Linked DNA regions of Homo sapiens: regions 1, 3 and 4 are each linked to region 2. The links are contacts of gene promoters, found by promoter capture Hi-C in blood cells and fetal thymus (Javierre and others, 2016). All regions are on one chromosome and are shown on one strand. The core of a region is centred on a gene start or on the middle of the fragment in contact, and the rest is flanking DNA. Distances in the headings are between cores, read along the strand shown.

Region 1 (2,846 bases), core at 87-2,586, 210 kb before region 2:
AAATATATGATGTATGGTTTTGCTTGTGGATGTCCAGTTTTCCTAGCACCATTTGATGCAAGGTCTGTCCTCTTAGTACCTGTTTTTGGATTTTTTTATTTTTTATTTTTTAGTAGAGATGGCGTTCCACTAAGTTGGCCACACTGGTCTCGAACTCCTGACCTCAGGTGATCTGCCCACCTCAGCCTCCCAAAGTGCTGGGATTACAGGCGTGAGCCACTGTGCCCAGCCTTGAATAACTCTTCACAATATTGCTTTCTAGAATTTTAGTTCCTGCCTCTTTTTAAACTATAAACTAGTATTACATTTATAGCCAGTATTTAGGTGTACCCTCCCTCTCATTAGTTTATGCCCCTAGACAAATTCTCTTTTTGCTTAAGTACACCTACTTTCTTCCACTAAAGTTTTGTACATTGCAAACTGTTGAGTCTTTGCATGTCTGAAAATGTCTTCATTTCCCCCGTGCTCTTGAATGGTGTAGCTGATAGCAAATTCAAGGCTGAGTTTTCTCTAGGTTTGAATGGACTCCAGGTGTCTACTGTAGCTAACTAGATGTCTGCTATCACTGTGATTGTCTTTCCTTTGTAAGACTTTTCTATTTTTTTTTTTTTGAACAGCATCTCCAATTTGCATTCATAAAATTATTAATCCAAATTGCGAAAGTAGACTTTTACAGAGTCACAGGTCAGTAACAAAACAGGAAATGAAATGTTCCAGAGCCTTTTTTTTTTTTTAAGATGGATTCTCGCTCTGTCACCCAGGCTGGAGTACAGTGGCGCAATCTCGGCTCACTGCAACCTCTGCCTCCTGGGTTCAAGCGATTCTTATGCCACAGCCTCCCTAGTAGCTGGGATTACAGATGTGTGCCACCACGCCCGGCTAATTTTTGTATTTCTAGTAGAGACAGGGTTTCACCATGCTGGCCAGGCTGGTCTCAAACTCCTGACCTCAAGTTATCCGCCTGCCTTGGCCTCCCAAAGTGCTGGGATTACAGGCATGAAGCCATCGTGCCCGGCCTCCAGAGACATTTTGATAAGTTCCAAAGAAACACACTAGGCAGGCTGGGTGCAGAGGCTCACGCCTGTAATCCCAGCAATTTGGGAGGCCCAGGCGGGTGGATCACGAAGTCAGGAGATCGAGACCATCCTGGCTAACATGGTGAAACCCCGTCTCTACTAAAAATACAAAAAAATTAGCCGGGCATGGTGGCGGGCACCTGTAGTCCCAGCTACTCGGGAGGCTGAGGCAGGAGAATCACTTGAACCCAGGAGGCGGAGGTTGCAGTGAGCCAAGGTCATGCCACTGCACTCCAGCCTGGGAGACAGAGCAAGACTCCGTCTCAAAAAAAAAAAAAAAAAAAAAGGCCAGTGTGGTGGCTCACGCCTGTAATCCCAACACTTTGGGAGGCCGAGGCGGGTGGATCATGAGGTCAGGAGATCAAGACCATCCTGGCTAACACGGTGAAACCCTGTCTCTACTAAAACTACAAAAAATTAGCCAGGCGTGGTGGCGGGCGCCTTTAGTCCCAGCTACTTGGGAGGCTGAGGCAGGAGAATCACTTGAACCTGGGAGGCAGAGGTTGCAGTGAGCCGAGATCACGCCACTGCACTCCAGCTTGGGCGACAGAGCTAGACTCCGTCTCAAAAAAAAAAAAAAAAAAAAAAAAGCTAGGCTAAAAATCTACAGTTAAACCATGGTTGTACAACAGGTTATATTCATTCCTGCAGTTTCTCAATAAGTTCTTATATTTGCCTTTCTCTTTTGAGAGTGAATCCCACTCACTCTATTGCCAAGGCTGGAGTGCAGTGGCATGATCTCAGCTAACTGCAACCTCCACCTCCCTGGTTTAAGCTATTCTTCTGCCTCAGCCTCCTGAGTAGCTTTGACTACAGGCGCATGCCACCAGCCCAGCTAATTTTTGTATTTTTAGTACAGACAGGGTTTTGCCATGTGGGCCAGGCCGATCTCAAACTCCTGACCTCAGGTGATCCACCCACCTTGGCCTCCCAAAGTGCTGGAATTACAGGCGTGAGCCACCGTGCCTGGCCTTTAGGTTTTATCTTACGTAATTTGCAATATATCTACACGAGGTTTTTTAAATTGTTTTAATTTTTTTGAGACGGAGTCGTGCTCTGTCGCTCAGGATGAAGTGCAGTGGCATGATCTTGGCTATTTGCAACCTCCATCTCCCAGGTTCAAGCGATTCTTCTGCCTCAGCCTTCCAAGTAGCTGGGATTACAGGCTATAGGCACACACCAGCATGCCCCGCTACATTTTGATTTTTCTGGTTTTTGGGTTTTTTTGTATTTTTAGTAGAGACAGGGTTTCACCACGTTGGCCAGGCTAGTCTCAAACTCCTGACCTCAAGTGATCTGCCCACGTTGGCCTCCCAAAGTACTGGGATTATAGACATGAGCCACTGCACCTGGCCTGTTTATTTATTTATTTGTTTGTTTGTTGTTGTTGTTGTTGTTTTGAGACGGAGTCTCACTCTGTCGCCCAGGCTGGAGTGCAGTGGCGCGATCTCGGCTCACTAAAACCTCTGCCTCCGGGTTCATGCCATTCTCCTGCCTCAGCCTCCCAAGTAGCTGAGACTACAGGCGCCCGCCACCATGCCCGGCTAATTTTTTGTACTTTTAGTAGAGACAAGGTTTCACCATGTTAGCCAGGATGGTCTCGATCTCCTGACCCCATGATCCGCCCGCCTCGGCCTCCCAAAGTGCTGGGATTACAGGGGTGAGCCACCGCGCCCAGCTATCTATTTTTTTTGAGATGGAGTCTTGCTCTGTCACCCAGGCTGGAGTGCAGTGGTGCGATCTCGGCTCACTGCAACCTCTGCCTCCTGG
Region 2 (2,700 bases), core at 25-2,524:
CTCACGCCATGAGGTACCTAAAGTTCTGTGTGACCTAAGGACAGGTGAGGGCTATAGGAGAAAGCCTAATGTTGTGGGACATACTTTAAAATCAGGCGCTTAGTTCAAATCCTGTATCTCTAGCACTTAATCACCAAATGCTCTTTCTGTACGGAGACAACCTCTTTGTACTTCAGATTCTCCATGTCTAAAATGGGGACAATTTCATCCGCTTCTCTGGGTAATGATAACAGAACCCTTACTGTGTACTATGTAACAGGTAGCCTTCGAAGCATTTATTATTGCATATATTAAGTCGTTTAATCCTAACAAAAACGCCAGGAAGTAGAAGAGACCATTTCCCCCATATGACAGACGAAAACCAAGACACTTAGTGTTTCAGTAACGTGCAGTAGACACAGAGCTAAATGTGAAGGAGCCAGAATTCGAACCCAAGCAATCTGATGCAGTATTCTTAAGCACTTCGCTTTGCTGGGATATCGTAAAGCTACAGTTGTAAGATCAAGGGTGCCAGGAACATGGCACACAGTAGACACTCAAAAACAAGAGTAGCCCAGCTCGTGATTATGGAAGGCCACAGAAAAAGTACAAAGTGTTTTCGTTGTTCCTCAGGAGGGACACGGAGGTAGTAGTGCCAGAGGTCTGGGCTGGGATTACTCTGTGCAGGGCATCATGTTACGCACTGGAGTATATGGGCAACAACATGCCAGGTCCTAGCCCATGCTCGGCCTCCGACGCCCCGGGAGACCTTGGCAGAGTTCGCCCCCGCCCCGGGCCTCTGTTTCCCCATTTGGGAACGTATTTATGTATCTGCTGTCCTCCCAGGATGTTGGCCAGACTAGAGGACTCAGCGGGCCGAGGCGAACCAGTGCAGGAAACGGAAGAACCCGAGCGGCCTCCAGCTCCGGGCCGGGCCGCCAGAGCAGGGCTAGATCAATGCGGACCGACCCGTAGTTACGCGCGCGGTACTCACCTCGCACGCAGACTCCTAGCGGACGGAACCAGGATCCAAACTTCCCGCGCCGCAACCACGGCCGCCGCGCCAAGCCCTGGCTCACTTCCCGCCGGAAGCTTGCCTATTCCGATTGGCTGCTTCCTGGGGAAGCCGACCAATACTGTCGCACTCGGACATCTGTTCCCGCCCCCTCAGGCTGCTGGGGCGGGGTCGCCGTACAGCGCCGGGAGGGACGCGTATCTCCAAAGCCCAATCAGAGTCCGGACGGGAGGGTCAGATGACTACGGTTACATCTCGGGCTTCCGGAGCTAGTTGGGTCTTTGTTTTTGGTGTTTTAGAGTCGGTGAAGGCTTTAAAGGAAGTAGGCAGCTGGAACCCGGCTGTGGCGGGTTGAAAAGCCCGGGCGTTTGAGAGCTGAGACTTGCCAGTTCCCACAGGCCAAGCCAGGCGTCTGCACCCCATTCTCTTGGTTCCGACGGTGTGTCTCTGCGATGTTTTGGCGGTCTCTCCTCTCCATCCCCTTAATAATACTGGTCTCTGTTTCACCCGTACCCCTCTACACGAGCAGGTGCAAATTGTCATTGAACCGGGAAAGTGGGCACACACTCAGATGCCTCCATGGACACGTGAGAAACCATGCTTCTGTTTCAGCCTATTGCTGACACGCGGGAATGTGGGCCCTGTGATGCCAGATCTTACTTTCTTTCCTTTCTTCCTCTCTTCTCCCCTCTCTACTTCCTTCCCTCTCTCCTTCCCTCCCGCCCTCCCTCCTCTTTGTGTGTGTGATAAAATCTATCTAACATAAAATTCACCATTTTTAAGTGTACAGTTCACTGGCATTAAGTACATTCACATTGTTGTGAAACCATCACCACTATCCATCTCCAGAACTTTTTCATTATCCCAAATAGAAAATCTGCCTGTTACACAGTAACTCCCCGTTACCCGTTTCTCACAACCCCTTATAGCCGATATTGCACTTTCTGTCTGTAAGTGCGAGGTACCGCATATAAATTGAATCATACAATAATTGCTCTTTTCTGATTGGCTTATTTCACTTAGCATAATGTCTTCAAGGAGCATCTATGTTGTAGCATGTATCAGAATTTCTTCCTTCTTGAGGCTAAATAATATTCCATTATACATGTATACTACATTTTGTTTATCCATTCATCCATATAAATGGATGCTTGGTTATTCCCACCTTTTGGCTATTGTGAATAATGCTGCTATGAACTTTGGTATACAAATAATCATTCTCCACATAATACGCAGAAAGAGTTTTCTAAAATGTAAAAATCTGTTCAAGTTACCTCCCTCCTGAAAATCTTCTATGGTAAATTGAAACCAAAATATGATACTATTAAACACTCCATAGAATAGCTGAAATGAAAAGACTGACAATTCCCTTAGTTGCAAAGATGCAGAAATGGGACTCTCATACAGTGTTGATGGGAGTGTAAAATGGTACAACCACTTTGGAAACATCAGTCTCTACTGAAATCAAATTTACCCCTACCCTATACCCCAGAAATCCCATTTCTAGATATTTACCCCAAAAAATGAATGCCTTTATTCACCAAAAGACTCATAGCAGCTTTATTCATAATAGCCAAAGGGAAAAAACCCAGATGTCCACCAATAGATGAATAGATAAATTGCAGCTTATTCATATAACTGTATACTACTGTTGAAGAATAATTTTAATATCAAATATAATACAGATATAAAATAAATGTTAGAGA
Region 3 (2,715 bases), core at 1-2,500, 160 kb after region 2:
TGGCTCCTGCTTGCGGCTGGTCTGGCTTGCCCCCTCCAGTGTCAACTGACCCCCCTCTTCCATCCAGGCTGTTGCCTCCCAACTCTGGCCTTTCTTAACCAAGTTCCAGGGTGAGACTCTCAGTTCAGGCGAGTTAAGACTCACCCAAGGAGAGACTTCCTAGGTAGTCAAGGGAAGGAAAGTTTGATTTGGACTAAAAGTAGTAAAAAGATTTCTCAGGTGGCCGGGGGAGTGAATAAGCAGAATATATTCTAAGACGAGAAACCAAACAAAAGTGGTACTAAACTGGGCATACGATGGTTCCAGGGGACTAGAAAACGGCATCTATCCAGACTGAGAAAAACAAAGCATAAAACACGTTTCCTAGGTAAAAACAAATTGGTTTTGTGTGTCTACACTTGCTTAATTTGCAAAATAAGAGCAAAGGCCCGAGAAAGATAAACCTGGGTTTGAGTCCTGACTGTCACTTGCCACTTGTGTGACCTTGGGCATGTTACTGTTTAAGCATCAGTAAAATGGGGATGATAATGCCTATCTCAGAAGGTTGATGTGGGAACTCAATGATATCAGGTACACAAAGCATAGCTCAGGTACTCAGTAACTGTTCGTGTTCTTCTCCTCACCACTCTTAAACTTCTGTCATATGTCTGTGGGGAAGTGTTTTCCCTTGCACTCAAGAAAACTAGCATAAAAGAAAGTGGTTACCCTGGTGACTTCCTCCAAAGAGGTTACAGGAGAAAATGGGGAGGGGAGAGCTTTCTCAAGTCACATCCCCAAGAGGCTGGCGGTAGAGACAGAAAAGAGCTAAGACATTAGCTATCTGTTGTCGAGGCAGCCAACTGCTTATAGCCAGGGAGTTCCTTGAGGCACTGACTATTGCCTTTGAGCAGGGAAATAATTACAATGTCTGGCATCAAGGCCTGTGTAGAATCTTCCACAGATGTTATTCTGTCTCTTGGAAAATATCCACAGTAATAATAAACAACTAAAGCTTCATTTTAAGTTTAAAGTATAAAAACTAGCTGTTTCATAACATAGGGACCAATTCTAACTCCTGACTATTGTGAAATTTTGTAGGGAATTGGAACAAAACTTTGGCTGGTTCTACAGCCAAAACATGTAGGGACTTAAAATTCTAGTTAGAGATAATCACTACTTTAAATGTAGTGCCTCTTCTCCCTCTTTTGTGAGCTGGCAGTCAGAGGCTGGATTAAGGAGATAGGTAAGAGGATTGCTTCATACTAATATGATTGAATTTAACACAGATTCAAAATGCGAGGGAATATAGAGACCTAGCTTCTTTCCTGGTCCTACACTGCCACCGCCCACATGTGCCTTCTCTGTGGGTATTCTTTCTGCCTCTCTTGAAAGCTGCACTGAGTCAAGGCACTAACATACAGCCTGGTTGACTTCAGGACAGGCCGATTAAGACTTCAGCAAAAGTATTTTTATCTAGTCTGTGAAGAATTAGTAGGATGCAACTAGCCTGTATGACATTTAAGAAGCTTCATATAATGAACAGCAAAAGCTTAGTTCTCTAGGCCTAGGTAGGATACCTGCAAAGAAAGAGGCAAATGGTACCAACAATCTATTGAAGTCAAATTAGAAGGCTGCAACAGGGAGTTTATACTAGGAACTTTGCAATATGTATTGAACAACAACTGTGCTGGGCATTATTCTAAGGATTTACATGCATTACCTAACTTAATCCTCCCAATAGCTCTATCTTAGGTACTATTAGTAGCCACATCTTGCAGATGAGTGAGCTGAGACACAGAGAGACTAACGATCTTGTCTACGATCCAGTGCTAGTTAGTGGTGGAAGTGGTCACCAGATCCCCACTCTAGGGACTGCACTTGTGACCATCAACATGAAAATTTTGTTTATTTTGACATATTGGATGGCAGGTCATAGAGACTTATGACAGAGACTTACTAAATTGCTTGATCAAGAAAAGGGCTTGTATGGTATTAAATTTTGTTGACCAATTTTGTTGAACCCCCCAAGCGGCTTACAAGACAGTTCTTATGTGAGACATCTCCACAAACTAAACCTGAACCTGCAGGGTGCAATCAGGAGCCTTGGTAATTCATTCCAGGACTTTTATTGTTCAGACTCAAACAGGACCTGCAGCTCCAGCAGGCAGCATCTGGGCGCTGCTCTCATTCCCTATTGTTCTGACAGCCAGACCTTTGAGGATCTGCAGAGCTGGTGGCCTGATAGGAAGTCACACGATTTCAGAAGAGCCTGCCAGGTTTTGACCATATGAATTATGTGTCTAGTTTCTGAGGCTGCCTCTGGAGTTAACCCCACAGGGGATATCTGAAGTATTCATCGTCTGCCCCAATCATGCTGCGTAGCTGAGGAGGGTGGAGTAAGCTAAAAGCGAATTCTGCCCACAGGGAAGACAACGGATGCCTGGTAACTTGGAGCTAAGCCCACAAATTCCAGAACTCTTTTGAAATTTCTGATTATGTGGCCAAAGTCTGGGAAATGTTTGGGTCTACTTGGCTCTGAGAAAACACATTCTCTTTCAAGAATCTGGTAGAACCAAGGATGAGAGCCATCATCAGTGACGTAAACTGGAAGTCAGGATTTAGAGGTGTCCTGACTGAATGGACATCCCACAGAGTTCCAGCCCTCAACAAATACTAGCTGAATGAATAAATCCCTATTCTCAAGTATTTGATCAACCACCAAACCTGGAGCGCTAA
Region 4 (2,759 bases), core at 154-2,653, 230 kb after region 2:
TTTGAGGCTGCAGTGAGCTATGACTGCACCACTGTACTTCAGCCTGGGCAACAGAGGGAGACCCTGTCTCATAACAAACAAACAAAAAAATTCTTTCCTTTAGAGGACTTTTAATTTATGTATCTGCAATTTTTTTAAAAAAACACAAGCTGGCAGTATGTATCTGCGTTTAAAATGATCTTTTCCTCTGACTCCAGTTCCTTATAGATATTGATCACATCTGGGCTTTTGTTGTTGTTGTTGTTTTCTCTCTTATGAAACTATCAGGATCACATCTATTTTATTTCTCAATGTATATCCAGAGTTTGGTATAGTGCAAAAAATAGAGGAGGTGACAATTACAACACTTTTCTGTCACATTCCCTTTTGATCTTCCAGGCAAAAGTTAGAACTCTACCTATCAGGGACTCGATGGTGGGCACCTCGCCGAGGTCGTCCAGCAGTTCGTGGATTGGATCATTGTGCTCCGGAGCAATGGCATCCTGGTGATCCAACAGGAGCTGCAAACACCAATGATCAACTCCATTTATACATTCAACTCTTCAGCCCGTCCCTCCCTAGAATGTCTAACAATGATCTGCACAAAGAGGTTCCAACAAAGTTCCTATATTCAAAGAAACAACAAGCAAATCCTCAGCAAACTAACCCAAATAAACAATATGATATATAAGGCACCACACCAGGCTCTGTTGAATGACTTATGTTATGATATAAGAAGAGGAAATACTGGTATTCTCTTAACCTCATGGCCATAAAGGATTCAAATGTGCCCTGTTTGAGAAAGAACACTGGCTGGGTGCAGTGGCTCACGTCTGTAATTCTAGCATTTTGGGAAGCCAAGGCGGGTGGATCACCTGAGGTCAGGCGTTCAAGACCAGCCTGGACAACATGATGAAACCCTGTCTCTACTAAAAATACAAAAATTAGCTGGGCGTGCTGGTGTGTGCCTGTAATCCCAGCTACTAGGGAGGCTGATGCAGAAGAATTGCTTGAACCCAGTAGGTGGAGGTTGCAGTGAGCCAAGATTGCGCCATTGCACTCCAGCCTGAGTGACAGAGCAAGACTCCATCTCAAAAAAACAAAACAAAACAAACAAACACAAAAAACCCACAAAACACTGAAACTCAAAGTTCAATACCCAAAGTCATCAATGTACCCTACTGCCAGTTCAAATAAGTCACGTGCACGCTTTTACTTAATGTTTCCAGTGTATGACATGATTTAATTCAGAGAAAAGTATACCAAATCAATGTTATAATTATTGTAGGGGCACTCAACAAAGTCTTCAAGGTGCCATTATCCCCAGTGATGCCCTCAGAAATGACAGTAACCTGAAATTTCATTTACATTTTAACATATGCCCTTGTTCCTGTTTTACATGTCCATGTCCCCAGAGGGGAAAAAATGATTTGAAAAATCTGAAGAAACATGGAGCTCCAGCTTCCAAGGGAAAAATCCACTCCAAGGCTACACAGAGAAAGCTAGTATTCTAGATCATGTTAGAAAAATAACGCAGAGAGCTAGGGTAAAAAGAAAGAAGAGTAAAAGCACTATTTTATTAAGGCAATAGATAAATTTAGTGGGATTTTGATTCAGTAGGCCTGGGGCGGTGTCCAGGAAACTTCATTTTTAACTATCAGCCCATAGGATTCTGATGCAGGTGGCCTGGGAAGACCTTTTAGAAACTTAGCAGTAGATACTGTTAAGAATAACAAGCAAAAGGCCAGGCGTGGTGGCTCACGCCTGTAATCCCAGCACTTTTGGGGGCCGAGGTGGGCAGATCATGAGGTCAGGATATCGACACCATGCTGGCTAACACAGTGAAACCCCGTCTCTACCAAAAATTCAAAAAATTTAGCCAGGCACGGTGGCGGGTGCCTGTAGTCCCAGCTACTCGGGAGGCTGAGGCAGGAGAATGGTGTGAACCCAGGAGGTGGAGCTTGCAGTGAGCCGAGATCGCGCCACTGCACTCCAGCCTGGGCAACACAGTGAGACTCTGTCTCAAAAAATAAATAAATAAACAAAAAAGAATAACAAGCAAAAAAAGAGACATCAAGGAGATGCATTGTCAGTTAGATTACAGGAAGGTTAGACACCTGGCTACCAGAGATGATAAGCAGCAGCCAGGGATAATAATTAAGGACAATGAAATTAAGTAATTAAAGAAAAATACTTACAGTGTGGGTGTTGATGATTTCACCAATGGAAATGTAGATTACTGGTTTGGTGAGGGTTACTAAATCAGAGTACTCATCCACATTAAATTTATCCTGAAGCTCTGGGACATCACAAGCAGTTTGGAAAAACCGTCTGAAATAAGCACAGGAGGCAGCCCCCCAAAAAGGGACATACACATGAAGTTGGCAAGAGGACATTTCACAAACCTCTCACACAATGAGTGCAAACAGAAGCCAGTCAACAGTTACTTCAAGAGAAAGTGCTGTGTGTTTGCTGTGCTTGACAACCTTGGGATAGTGGTTCGAATAACTTCTTTCTCCACCTAGTTTGTAGTTTTAGTTTTACCCATAAGAACCATTGCACCATGACTTAAAAGTTTCCAGACACCATTAGGAGAACCAATTCTATCTCTAAGACAGTGCTCTGAAGCACTGAATTCAAAACTAGATGTTAATTTACAAAAATTAAAAGCATTCTCCAATTCTTCTCTGATTACAAGGTAACATGTACTAAATGCATAATCATCATTATTTTTATGTTAACTACTATCTATTTCATAAGTGTTAACTACTATCTATTTC

The links. The method cuts DNA at HindIII sites, captures the fragments that hold promoters and counts their contacts. A CHiCAGO score of 5 or more calls a contact.
Region 1: a contact is called between a fragment that was not itself captured here and the fragment with the promoter of CRTC3-AS1 in region 2, in 7 of 17 cell types (megakaryocytes, endothelial precursors, total B cells and 4 more). The highest score is 5.8, in megakaryocytes.
Region 3: a fragment that was not itself captured here is called in contact with the fragment with the promoter of CRTC3-AS1 in region 2 in 7 of 17 cell types (fetal thymus, naive CD4 T cells, activated CD4 T cells and 4 more); the score reaches 9.2 in fetal thymus.
Region 4: a fragment that was not itself captured here is called in contact with the fragment with the promoter of CRTC3-AS1 in region 2 in 1 of 17 cell types (activated CD4 T cells); the score reaches 5.2 in activated CD4 T cells.

Annotation. Positions count from the first base shown.
Region 1 is chr15:90,926,215-90,929,060 of GRCh38, reverse strand. No RefSeq gene overlaps it. Among named protein-coding and RNA genes, the nearest start is that of HDDC3, 4.9 kb to the left of the region's middle. The HindIII fragment of the contact is 3,766 bases long and covers 1-2,846 here.
Region 2 is chr15:90,715,714-90,718,413 of GRCh38, reverse strand. It overlaps CRTC3-AS1 (CRTC3 antisense RNA 1), which reads left to right and starts at 1,274. Exons shown (of 4, transcript NR_120372.1): 1 at 1,274-1,433. It overlaps BLM (BLM RecQ like helicase), which reads right to left and starts at 1,068. Exons shown (of 22, transcript NM_000057.4): 1 at 974-1,068. The HindIII fragment of the contact is 2,609 bases long and covers 1,074-2,700 here.
Region 3 is chr15:90,560,147-90,562,861 of GRCh38, reverse strand. All of the region lies in intron 2 of CRTC3 (CREB regulated transcription coactivator 3), which reads right to left. Among named protein-coding and RNA genes, the nearest start is that of CRTC3, 32 kb to the right of the region's middle. The HindIII fragment of the contact is 514 bases long and covers 994-1,507 here.
Region 4 is chr15:90,483,771-90,486,529 of GRCh38, reverse strand. It overlaps IQGAP1 (IQ motif containing GTPase activating protein 1), which reads right to left. Exons shown (of 38, transcript NM_003870.4): 30 at 2,178-2,310; 31 at 398-500. Among named protein-coding and RNA genes, the nearest start is that of CRTC3, 45 kb to the left of the region's middle. The HindIII fragment of the contact is 7,118 bases long and covers 1-2,759 here.